Regions from separate parts of the Homo sapiens genome. Here all the other regions are linked to region 1. Evidence: promoter capture Hi-C in 16 types of primary human blood cells and fetal thymus (Javierre and others, 2016). All regions are on one chromosome and are shown on one strand. Each heading gives the region's core, a stretch centred on a gene start or on the middle of the fragment in contact. The rest is flanking DNA. Distances are from core to core; before and after follow the strand shown. Region 1 holds the start of NRBP2 (nuclear receptor binding protein 2). Region 2 overlaps HSF1 (heat shock transcription factor 1). Region 3 holds the start of MROH6 (maestro heat like repeat family member 6).

Region 1 (4,077 bases), core at 682-3,181:
CAGGTTCCGAAGTTCCTCTCGCTCAGCGCGGATGGGGCTTCGGAGATCATCTGGAAGTGCTGTGGGAGGGCGCAGAGCTGAGCGGGCGGGGACCTCTCCAGGACCCCGTCCCCCCAAAGTCCGCACTTACCATTGGAGAAGATTCGGTGCCACACTGCCAAGGGGCGGGAGAAAGAGTGGAGTTAGCTGCTGGGGCATCAGAACTCCTCTGCCCTTGGCTCCAGGCACCTTCCCCTGCCCCGTTCCCCCACCCAGCCCTGCCCCGCCAGCACCGGAGCCGATCTTGATGAGGCCGTTGTGCTGAATGAAGATGGTGTCGCTGGTCAGGTTCCCGTGGATGATTGGGGGGCTGCAGGCGTGCAGGAAGCTGCAGACGTTGGGGAGGGGAGAGTAGGAGGAGCCGGTCAGGAGGCTCTGGAGAGATGGGGGCTCGGTGGCGCCGCGCCCAGGCCAGCCCAGGCCCTCACCTGAGCGCAGACAGGATCTGCGTGCACCAGCGCTTCCAGGCCTGGCGGCGGACGCACGACTCCGTCGGTCGGGTGGGCGCAGGAGAGGCGGCTGGGCCTGCGGAGCCCGCCCCGCATCCTCGCCCAGCCCCTGTCCGAGGCCGCCGGGCACCCCCTCACCATCCCAGTCCCCGAGGCTGCCCCAACCCCGTCCTGTCCCCGTGGCTGCCCCAGCCCGCTCCCCATACCCGGGCGTTCATGGCCTTGTGGTTCTTCTTGGTCTTTTTGAGGAATTGCTTGAGGCTGCCTGATGACACGTACTCTGTGATGAAGATGACCTGCACGGTGCGAGCTCAGGATTTCCACCAGCTGCGGGTTCGTCCCCATGCCCGCCCCACCTAGCTGTGGTCTCTGCCTGCCCGGGGCCTTGCCCGTGCTCACCCTCGCGCAGGCCTCAGAGGTATCCAGCCAGTACTTGTGCAACTTCACGATGTTCGGGTGGTCCACCAGCACCAGCTGCTCGAACACGGTCTGGATCTTCTCCTGGGGAGGGAGGGTGGTCGCTGGGTGGTCAGCAGGTGGTCACCCAAGCAGGATGAGGAGGGGGCAGCGGTCTCACCTCGTGCGCCGCGAAGGCCTTCCTGTCTCCGAAGTGGAGCTCGTTCCACACCACCTCTACCCCCTCCTCCGTGTCCATGGCTAGGAAGGTGCTCTGAAGCCCTGGCATGTTCCCTTGGTTTACCTGGGGGTGAATAAAGGGTTATGTGTGCCCTGGTGTGTGTCAGGGTTGTGGGTGAGGATTTGGTCCCTGTCCACACCTTTCCAGTGGGCCCAAGCGTGGGCTGCAGGCCCTGAGCCACTCTGCGGGAAGGTGGGGCTTGGAGGGTAGCTGCCCCCAGGAGCCAAGGGCTCCTATCCAAGGGCTGGGCTAAGGGGATTTGGAGCAGGTTTCAGGGGGTCGAGGGGGATCCCCAGGAAGCTAGCGGCTGAGTCCAGAGGCATGGGGAGGTGGTCCTGGGAGGAGACTGGCCCTCAGGGAGTCCCAGGGCGAGCGCCAGGCCAAAGGGGTCCAGGGGTGGCTGATTCGCGGGCCGCGAGGGGCCGCGGAGAGGTTTCCAGCCGCCGCGCTCTCCCAGCGCCCCCACGCCCCGCGCAGCCTCCAGGCCCCTCCCGCTCTGGGAGGGCGGTGTCACCCCGTGCCCCAACCCCCGCGCCCACCTGCTCCCGTCGCTTTTGCCAGCGACCACACGGGCTTTCCTCCAGGATGTCGCTCTCGTCCTCGCTCTCGTCCTCCCGCTCCCGCTCCCGTTCCCGGGCCCGCCTCGGCGCCGGCTCCGGGGCCGCCATGGTTCGGCCAGCCCAGGCCACCGCCCTCTGCGCGATCCGCCGCCGGCGCAGCCTCTCCCGGCCCGCCCTGGCCTCGCGCCCAGCAGCCCAGCCTAGAGCCGCCGCGGCAGCCTAGAGCCCCAGCCCCGGCTCTGGGAATTGGGAGGCGCGGGCGCGCGGCGGACGGGCGGGGCCCGGGGGCGGAGCCGGCGCGCACCTCCCGAGCCGCCTGTGCCTGCCGGAGCCAGAGCAGAGCTTCCCCGAGAGCTGCCGAGCCCGGGCCGCGCCCAGGCCCCGCCCCCCCGGAGGCCCCGCCCCGCGAAGCCCCGCCCCAGTCCCTGTTTCCTCCTCGTCTCCCAGGCCTGCTCCGCGAAGCCCCTCCCCAGGCCCTGTCCCCTCCTCGTCCTCCAAGCCTCCTTCGCGAAGCCCCGCCCCAGGACCCGCCCCACCCCCGCGAATCCCCGCCCCGTTTTAGTCCCCGCCCCCGCCCGTTCCCAGGGTCCTCCGCGAAGCCCCACCCCAGGCCCCGCCTCACCTCCTCGAAGCCCCGCCCCTATGAGGCCCCGCCCCGCGCAGAGGAACCGCCCCCAAATCCCCGCCCCCTCGGAGGCCCCGCCCTGCGGACACCTGGAGCCCGGAGCGCCCACTTCTCTCGCGGTTGCTCCCCTAGGATCTGGGGGAAGACCCGGGGCATCTGGGGGCCCCCAAGCCCACGGCACCCTCCAGCTGCAGAAGACCCCGCGGGCTCGAAAGCGGGACCCGCTCTCCTGGCCACGCACTCATTCCCCGGCCGACCCCCAAGGGACAGGTCGAAGGGGCACCGAGGGCGGGGGAAAGGCCCACCAGCAGGCTGACCCAGGCTGACTTTGATCGGTGACCACGAATCTCTCCCTGGCCCGCCCACCAGTGCCTCCTCCCGCCCACAAGCCCATCTTCTCACTTTCCAGGATGGCGATTTTCTCTTTTCTCCTCAAACGCGCATTTCCTTTCCGCGGCTGGCTCCCATGGGACAGTGGAACCATGAGGGGGGAGCCCACCCGGCTCACACGACCTCTCCCTCCGGAGGCCGCTCTAAGCACACCCTCCAGCCACGCCGACCACCGGGGCTGTCCCCGATTCTCACCTAAAACCCCCTTCAGCCCACAGCCCCCACGGCCTTCCTGTGGTCTCCTCCCTCCTTCACGGCGGGTCCTCATCCTTTACCTTCTCTCTCTGGAGCCCAAATTGGAACTCCGCTCCTCCCCTCCGCGCAGCTCCATGCACTGGCCCTTTGGGACGCCTCTTTCTTTCTTTGGCAGAGGTGCATCTGGCCCTGCTGCGTCCCCTGTGGTCTCTCTTTTCTGACCAGCCTTGGTCACCAGGCACCTTGTGTGTGGTTTCCACCAATGCCAGGTGATCCTGCTGAGGCCCTCTGCAGTAAAGGTTTGGGGTGTTCAAATCCTCCACCCTGAAACTGGCCCTGACCAGCTCCTGGGAGACACCCTCTAAGCCCTTGGAATGTTCTGCCTGATTTGAATGTCTGTGTTTACCTCGGCCACACCAGATTCTATGCTAAGCTTGTCCAACCCGCAGCCCAGAGGGTGCATTCGGCCAAGGACAGCTTTGAATATGGCCCAACACAAATTCATAAACTTTCTTATTGAGATTTTTTTTAAAGCTCATCAGCTGTTGTTAGTGTTAAGTGTATTTTATTTAAGGGTATTGCCCAGGACAATTCTTCCAATGTGTGCCAGGAAAGCCCACAGATTGGACACCCCTGGTCTGTGCTAACAATATGGTCTACGGGGGGACCTTGGGCCATGTGGCATCAGCCTGACCTCTGCAGGGGCTGGAGGCCAAAGTCAGCCACCTGGGAGGTCAGCCATGCCTGTGTGACCAACCCAATAAAAACCCTGGACACTGAGGTACGGAGGGCTTCCCTGGCTGCTGACATGCTGTGCTCATTGTCACACCTCAGTGCTGGGAGGTTGAGCACTGTCCCCATGCCTGCAGTGGGTGGGGACACCTGCAGACCCGTGCTGGTCTGTCCTGGGTTCTGTTCTGTGAGTCCTTGCCACTGCTGATTTTAACGCATCCATTGCTGTAATAAATAGTACCCTTTCCGAGTTCTGTGAGTCCTTCTAGTGAACCATTGAACTTGAGGGTGGTTTTGGGGAGCCCCCCCAGTGGTCCCTTCTCACTTGGTATGAGGGCCTAAACATGAAGGCCCAGTAATTGGTCCCATTACCCTACCTCACGTCAGCTGCCTTCTTCAGCTGAGCCCACCCCAAGTACACGGCCCTGTGCCATCGGACATGACAGGCAC
Region 2 (4,077 bases), core at 16-2,515, 450 kb after region 1:
CGACCCGGACACCGACGCGCTCATCTGCTGGAGCCCGGTGAGGGCAGCGCGCGGGCGCGGGGCCCGTGGGGACCGGGAGGGAGCAGGGCCGCGGCGGACGGCGCGGGAGGGCTGCGGGGAGGGGCCCTGCCGCACTTCAGCTTACGCGCGGTGAGCCTGCCCTGCCCCCGCCAGAGAAGGGCGGCGGGTCCCGAGCCTGCTCAGACCCAGAGCCTTAAGTTGGGAAAGCGGCTACGAGACCCACACTCGGTTCAACCCCTGCCCCAGCGAAGTTTCCCTGGGATGGGGAGAATGGGGCGTCTCTTGTATTGGGCTTCTGCTAACTGTTGGGCGGTTGCGGAAGTGTCCGCGCTTAGGGCAAGCACCCGGCTTCGCCAGCGGACGCTATGCCCCAGAGGACATCGGCGTCCCCAGGGGACAGCCTACGGGGTGCTGGGTCGGCAACTATTAGGAGAAAGTCAGGACTTGGCACGTGAAGTGGAGGGCGTTGCTGTAGTGGAACAGGAAAGGCAGTGGAAACAGTAAGACGTCATGAAGCTTCAGGTTGATCTCAAGCCCGTTTCCGAATCCCAAATCTGGGTTTCCCAAGAGGAGTTTTGTTTTTCATTCCTTATGGGGCATCTTTATTCGTGTTTCTGTCTTCAGTTGCCTGGCAGCAGGCTTGTTTACATGGTCCGACCCTGCAAGACCGGACAGCTCCGGTTTGCAGAAGTAAATCAGTGATTGTCTGGAGTTGGAGATCAGAATCTGCTGTTCACATCCCGGCTGTGACGTCGTGTCCGGTGAGGGGCAGAGCCACCGCCTGCGGCTGGCAAGTGATGACCTGAAGAAGGGCCACACTGGCCGAGTGGGGTGACTCTTGCTTGTAATCCCAGCACTTTGGGAGGCGGAGGCGGGTGGATCACTTGAGGCCAGGAGTTCGAGACCAGCCCGGACAATATGGCAAAACCCCAGCTCTACTAAAAATACAAAAAATTTGCCGGGCGTGGTGGTGCTTGCCTGTGGTCTTAGCTACTTGGGAGGCTGAGATAGGAGGACTCCCTGGACCTGGGAGGCAGAGGTTGCACTGAACCAAGATCCCGCCACTGCAGCCTGGCAAAGAGTGAGACCCTGTCTAAGAAAAAAAAGAAAAAAAAGAAAGGCCACTGATCATTGGGAGCTTTTGGAGGCACCGTGACCGGCAGGGTGCCACCAAGCATGTGTGGCCTCCCAGGAGCTAAGACCCCAGAGTTCTTCAGGCTCTGCTGAGTGCCTCCCATTTGCACAGCCTCTTTATGCTGTTAGGAATGAAGAAAAGTCTAAACTGAAGCTGCCCCAGGCAGGAGGCCAGGTTTTCTGCTTCTTGGGTTTACTGAGGCTCTGCTTTACCTACAGAGTGTTTGGAAATAAAGAGAAGACTGGAAATCTTTGCTCTTGTTAGAAACACTTTGTGTTTGTCCCGCTGACACCTCTGTGTTGGCCTTCCCATCCCCAGGTCCCATTAAGGCACAGTGCACCTTCCTGGAGGCTGGCTTCATTTCACCATCTCTTCATTCTAGACCTTGGATTCTTGTGCAAAGGAAATACTCCCATGTTTCTGTCTTCTTTTATCCGTCTTTTTCTTTTTTCTTTTTTTTTTTTTTAGACCGAGTCTTGCTCTGTCACCCAGGTTGGAGTGCAGTGGTGCGATCTCGGCTCACTGCGACCTCCACCTCCCGGGTTCAAGCAATTCTGCCTCAGCCTCCCGAGTAGCCAGGACTACAGGTGCGTGCTGCCACACCCGGCTGATTGTTGTATTTTTAGTAGAGACGGGGTTTCACCACATTGGACAGGCTGGTCTGGAACTCCTGACCTCAAGTTATCCACCCGCCTTGGCCTCCCAAAGTGCTGGGATTACTGGTGTGAGCCACTGCACCCAGCCCTTCTTCTTTTTCTTATTCCCCTTAATCCTCAGAAGTTAAGGGGAATAACTCCCCCATTGGGGGAGGGGCATCCGCGATTATCTGGGATATTCTAAGCTTAATCCTACTAGCGTGATCTGTCCTGTCCCGTAATCTGCTTGCTGTTTCTGCTTAAAGATTATGAGGCATGTGGGTTAGGGCCCAGTGTACCCTTTTTTGGGACCGAGGCATGTTCTGGGCAGGGCTTTTGAGCAAGGAAGGCAGGTGTGATGAGGCCCGTGGCCAGCCTCCACTCCACTCACAGGTGCACCACCTGTGGATCTGTTCTCCCTGGGGAGGGATGGGGAGCCAACTGGAATGTGAGTGTTTGGTTCCACCTGGTCAGTATGAAGTGGCAATGGTTGGTGCAGGACGTAGCACTGGGGGCGAGCATGGCAATGAGACAGAAACACTGACTTAAAACTGGAAGGAAGCCCTTCTCCAGGCCGCGCAGGGGGCTGCAGAGCTTTCCGGCGCTGGCTGCCTGGCCTGGAGAAAGGAGGTGATCATCCCATCCTGTGACTTTGAGAGCACTCACACAAGCCCTGAGGACTCCCTGTCAGCAGAGTCCCAACAGGGCACCCTCCCACAAATCTACTGCCCAGGCCCAGCTGGCTCTCGGAGGCCTTGAGAAGGCCCTGGTGCTCTTGCTCTCTGCTGCCTTCTCTGGGAGAGTCTCCTTCTGGCTCAGAGTCTTACCACCATTCTGCCAAGAAAAACCCTCCCTATTTGACACAAGAAGATGAGGCAGAATCACAGGCATGGTGACTAACTCTCAAGGCTGAATAACCTGGGGGAGACCGAGGCCCAGAAACTGGCCAGTAACTTTACTGAGCCTGGCCAGGAATGGGACCAGGTCTGGACCACCATTGCACGTCCCCTCCCTGGCCTGAGATCAGGACTCCCACTGCAGCCACTGGAGGCAGAATGCCGGGTCACTGCCCAGGAGACCCCATTGGTGGGGACTGTGGCAGCTACCCCATCCCTGTGTTGTTTGATTTCCCACCCCCCCCTCCCAAGACCCTCATTCCCATGAGCACCCCACCCACACAGGCAAGGGCCTTGAGGGGACCCAGCAAGTCGTGGAGGACAGCACAGCCTTGGAGAGGAAATGTGTCAGCCACAAGGTTATGATCCCGGGGATCCACATAAGAGCATGGGCGTGCACGTGGGTGGTCCTCCCTCAGCCAGCTTCTCAACAGCTTCTCCCAAAGGTACACCTGGATCCAGTACCACTGAGACCCAAAGACGGGGTTGGGGGACTGAATACCTGGACTGACAGGCACCTCCATAGAACTGAGACCCATGAGACCCGGGACCCGCAGCCTCCCTGCCCCGTGCCCTGGTGCCGGCCCTCAGCCCAGCTTCCTCGTCTGCATGCAGCAGCTCCTCTGTCCACCAGCAGAGGCTCTTCTAGGGCCTTGCTGGGCTGCAGCTGACTCAGGAGGGCAACAGCCTCTTCAGAGAATTTGACAGCATGGAGAACCAAACAAAAGCAGAAAGTGAAGCCTCAGAACTGGGTTCACCATCATCCCAGTTTTTTACAAGCTATGATTTTGTCCCATCTTTATTAACAAGATAAGGAAGTATGAAAAGTAATCTCGACATCTGAGATGGTGAGATTACAGCCCCAGGAGCCACCCAGCTGGCTGAGGAGCCTGAGAACAAGGCACAGCCACATGACCTGTGCCAGACAAATGCTAGAATGATGGTCACGCAGGTTAGAACGAACCCAGGTAGACGGAGGCCTCAGGATCAGGGTGAGGCCAGAGGGGGCACCTGGGTGCAAAATTTAAGGAAGCACTTTTTGTTTTTTAGATAAGGTCTCGCTCTGTTGCCCAGGCTGGAGTGCAGGGCTATGATTGCAGCTCGCTGCAGCCTCTGCCTCCCAGGCTCAAGTGATCCAGTCACCTCAGCTGAGTCACTGGGACTACAGGCTTGCACCACCAGACCTGGCTTTTTTTTTTTTTTCTTTTTAAGGTTTTAGTAGAGACAGGGTCTCGCCGTATTGCCCAAGCTAGTCTGGAACTCACGGGCTCAAGCCATCCTCCCATCTCAGCCTCCCGAAGTGCTGGGATTACAGGCTTGAGCCACCGCGCCTGGCCCTGAGGCATTCCTTTTTAAGACCTACCTGCATTCGGATGGCGCTGGGAGTGGG
Region 3 (3,696 bases), core at 911-3,410, 270 kb before region 1:
CCACGCAGCCCGAAACAGCCAGCATCTCCCCAAGAGCACGTGTGGCCTGTGGAGCAAGTGGCCCACTCAGGCCTGGGGCACGCCTGGAGCTGCACTGGGCAGCAGAGGGACAGGCGTGCTGTCAACAGGATGGGGACAGCCTCAGACACGCATGGGACATTCCAGGAGCAGTTACCTAGGTGCAAACTCCCTATGCCCATCCTCCCCGCTCCTCGCCACCCCCCACCCCCGCCCCCACCCCCTGGTAATGGCTGGAGCCACCTACCGCCAGTGCCTGGGGCTCCGGCCCCGAAGCACCCTTCAGCGCCCACAGCAGTTGCACCAGCACCTGCCCATTTACACGCTGGTTACGGCTTAGGCTGCGCCAGAGCTCGGCTGCTACCCTGAGGGTTTGGAGGGGGCTGGTGTGAGACAAGAGATGGGTGGGTGTCCAGGGAATGTAGGGAGTCCCCAGCCAGGGTGGAGGCAGCCAGTAGGACTCCAGCAGGGGAGGGGCAGGAAACCCCTCCCATCTCCCCCCATCCCCAAATCTCAGAGAAACAAATGAAGGGTTAATTGTGCAGACCACAACATAGCCTATCTCAAGCTGAGCTGCAGGGTGGGGACCCACTGGGAGTCCCGTTGGGTCAGCGACAGTGAAACAAACCTGGCATTATTAAAAAGAAAAAAATTGCCACAGAGAATAAAACCAAAGATAACTTCTGGGGCCAATTAACCAAAGAGCCAGGGGTGTCCAGGCACGTTAGCCCCCCAGCCTCATTCACCCCACTCCGGAGCCAACCCCAGGACGGTCTCCAGGGGAGGCCACCCGAAGATAGAAGGTGGCTCCAAGAGAGGAGCCCAGCATCAGAAACTCTGTGGCAGGAGTGTGGGGGGAGTTTGCGGAGCTAAAAATGAGGGGAGCGGGAATGGATACGGGGCATGAGTCATCGCGGGGCTGGAATAAGGAGGCCCTGCCCCTTTTCAGCTCCCTCTTCTGGGGCCAGACTCCACCGCCAAGCGGGAAGAGGGAAGGAAGCCGCGTGGGGACCGCAGGGCCAGGACGGTTGGGTTACCGATCGGCGGGCAGAGAGCGGGGTAGCAGCGCACACACCACGTCCCGCGCATGCTCCAGGGCCAGTGCGCTCAGCACTCGCAGGGCCGCCCTCCAGGGCCTCCCCTCCGCTAGGCTGGGCACCTGCGCCAGCAGCCCACGCACCAGAGCATGCACCTGGTGGGGAAGGGGGCAGACTTCAGCAGTCAGGCCTCCTCCACCGTCCATTCCCCTCTGGCCTGCACCCCACCTCCACCCCCACCCTGATCCCGCCTGGCAGGAGCAGCCTGAAGATGGCAGGGTCAGGCTGCGCTCTCCAGGCCCCTCCCACCACCTTGGTGCCCGAACCGGCAGGATTCTGTAGGGCATGAAGTGGGTGAAGGCTGACCTGGTCCTCCAACCGCTCGCCCCGGGCCTCCAGGGCTGAGGACAGGGTGAGCACTGTCGCCTGGGTCCCTGCAAAGCCAGCCTCCTCCAGGCAGGCAGCCGTGTACAACGCGAGGTCGGCAAGAACTCCCTCCTCCCAGGAACTCTGGGGAACCTAGGGCAGGATGGGTGGGGCGTCTGAAGTGCCCAAACCTCTCCTAGCTCTCCTCCTGGTCCCTCGGCCTCCCACCTGGCTTCCTACAAAATCCCTTGCTCCTCTGTTGCTCACCAGCCTGTTTCACGCTGACCTCCCCCGGGGCCAGCACCGCCCCCCTGCCACCCCGCCTTCCACCTACCATCCACAGGACCCCCAGGCCGGTTCGCACAACATCCCTTCCCTCCCCCGTCACCTGGTGGGGCCCCTCAGGGGCTGGTTCCAGGGCACTGTTGAGGGAGCAGGGCTCGCTGCCAGCTTCAGGGACGGTGGCCCCACGTCCAGGCTCTGCCTCAGAGGGGGCGGTGAGTGCCTGGGTCTGTGGCTCAGCCTCAGGTTTGACCTCCCAGGACTTGGGCTGAGGGCCTGCGGAAGGGGGTCCCTGGGGCTGCCCCTGCCTGGCCCGGATTCCTTCAGTCAGTGCTGTCAGGGTTAGAGCCCCCACGGGAGCCTCCCGGGCCCGGCTCCGGCCCCACACACCCCCAGCCATGGCGGCCCTTGCCTGCAGCACCTGCCGCTGCTCCTCCTGCGAAGTTGTGCCCAGGACTGACCTAGAAGCCGCCCCGGGCGGGACCACGGACGGGCGTGGTGGCGTGCGCTAGCGTGAGCTTGCGGGGGCTGGGGAGCCACACGGACGTGCCTACAATGGGCCTTTGAGGGGCCCTCCTGCCTGGGCTGCTGGAGGGGAGTGGCCACCTGCAGCCTGAGTGCCTGTGGTGTGGCTCTACCCACCAGGGCCCTGAGAACAGGATCCCCAAGAGCTGGCAGATCCACGAAGAAAGGGGGAGAAGGGCCCCCACCCTGACTACCAGCCCCTGTTGACCAGGGAGCTCAGGGCAGTTGTGGACAGCTCTGAGGAGGTCCTCGCAGGGTCCAGGAGTCTGGGCCCCACCCTGAGTCGAGGCCTGATTCAGCCCCCAAGCAGCAGTCAGCTCCCCACTGGGCCTGGGGCTAGGGGCTGGCCCCGCCCCCTGCACGCTGGCTCCGCCCCCTGCACGCTGGCTCTGTCAGACACCTTGCAACAGGCATGACTGGGTGAGCTTGGGGCAGCCCGGAGGTGTGGAGGGGGCAGTGAAGACACCAGAGGAGCGGTGGCCCCTCCAGAGCTTGTGCAGGCCCCTCTGGGTCCTGGGTCCTTGGCCAAATCTCATGTTGAAACGTAATCCCCAGTGCTGGAGGTGGGGCCTGGTGGGAAGTGATTGGATCCTGGGGGCAACTTCCCCCTTTGGTGCTGTTCCCATGATAAGACTTCTCAAGATCTGGTTGTCTGGAAGTGCGTGGCACCGCCCCACCCCTTCCTCCGGCCATGTAAGACCTGCCCGCTTCCGCTTCCACCAAGATGGTAAGTTTCCTGAAGCCTCCCCAGCCATGCTTCCTGTACCTGCAGAACCACAGGCCAATTAAACCTCTCTTCCTTAGAAATTACCCAGTCTCAGGTATTTCTTTACAGCAGTGCAAGAACGGAAGAATACAGCCACTCTGGCTGGGCCCCTCGGAGTGCGCGGGTGCCCTGGGGGTGCCTGGGGTGTGGTGTGTTCTGTCCAATGTGTGTGAGTCTGTATCTCTCTCCTAGCTCGTACTCCCCGGGGCTGGCTGGACTGGGCCTCTGCTCCAAGTCCCCACCCTCCACCCTCAGCCAACCACACAGTGGTGCTGCCCACCCTGAAGCCCGGGGAGCCAGGTGAGCTGGTCTGGTGGAATGCCTGGGCAGACGGAAGTGCCCCAGGCGGTCAGCATTCCCCCCACACCCTTGCCTGTCTGTGCCACCTCAGGCTGCTTCGACAAGAGAGGCCCAGGCCCCCAGCCTCCACTTCCTGCCAAGCCTAGAACCTCTCCCCCAAGCAGTTCCTCTTGAAGCTCACGTTGCCCAAACTGGCGGAACCCTGAGATCAGGAACTTGCTGGTGCAGAGGCAGGGCCAGCCCAGCACAGCCACGTGCAGTGCCACTCTGGCCAGGTGTCTGGGGCTGAGTCATCTCCTGGAGCTTCAACTTCTTCCCCATTCTTCCTCTCCTTCCGTGGGCTGCTGGGTCAGGAGCTGTGTCCCTGACGCCAGATGCCAGGGTGGTGCTGGGTTGGCAGCA

Evidence for each region. The method cuts DNA at HindIII sites, captures the fragments that hold promoters and counts their contacts. A CHiCAGO score of 5 or more calls a contact.
Region 2: a contact is called between a fragment that was not itself captured here and the fragment with the promoter of NRBP2 in region 1, in 3 of 17 cell types (monocytes, M0 macrophages and erythroblasts). The highest score is 7.8, in monocytes.
Region 3: a contact is called between the fragment with the promoter of MROH6 here and the fragment with the promoter of NRBP2 in region 1, in 1 of 17 cell types (naive B cells). The highest score is 7.2, in naive B cells.

The regions. Positions count from the first base shown.
Region 1 is chr8:143,839,042-143,843,118 of GRCh38, forward strand. It overlaps NRBP2 (nuclear receptor binding protein 2), which reads right to left and starts at 1,932. Exons shown (of 18, transcript NM_178564.4): 1 at 1,665-1,932; 2 at 1,066-1,188; 3 at 888-989; 4 at 695-784; 5 at 468-508; 6 at 273-367; 7 at 131-154; 8 at 1-59. The coding sequence starts at 1,793. RefSeq lists enhancers at 1,819-2,549, 2,550-3,279 and a silencer at 1,834-2,393. The HindIII fragment of the contact is 4,061 bases long and covers 1-3,326 here.
Region 2 is chr8:144,291,838-144,295,914 of GRCh38, forward strand. It overlaps HSF1 (heat shock transcription factor 1), which reads left to right. Exons shown (of 13, transcript NM_005526.4): 1 at 1-37. Among named protein-coding and RNA genes, the nearest start is that of HSF1, 2.3 kb to the left of the region's middle. RefSeq lists a silencer at 1-114 and enhancers at 246-902, 505-564. The HindIII fragment of the contact is 1,460 bases long and covers 536-1,995 here.
Region 3 is chr8:143,570,612-143,574,307 of GRCh38, forward strand. It overlaps MROH6 (maestro heat like repeat family member 6), which reads right to left and starts at 2,161. Exons shown (of 14, transcript NM_001100878.2): 1 at 1,810-2,161; 2 at 1,422-1,574; 3 at 1,056-1,210; 4 at 266-383; 5 at 1-46. The coding sequence starts at 2,103. It also overlaps a transcript of NAPRT not described here. RefSeq lists an enhancer at 670-1,519. The HindIII fragment of the contact is 15,945 bases long and covers 1-3,696 here.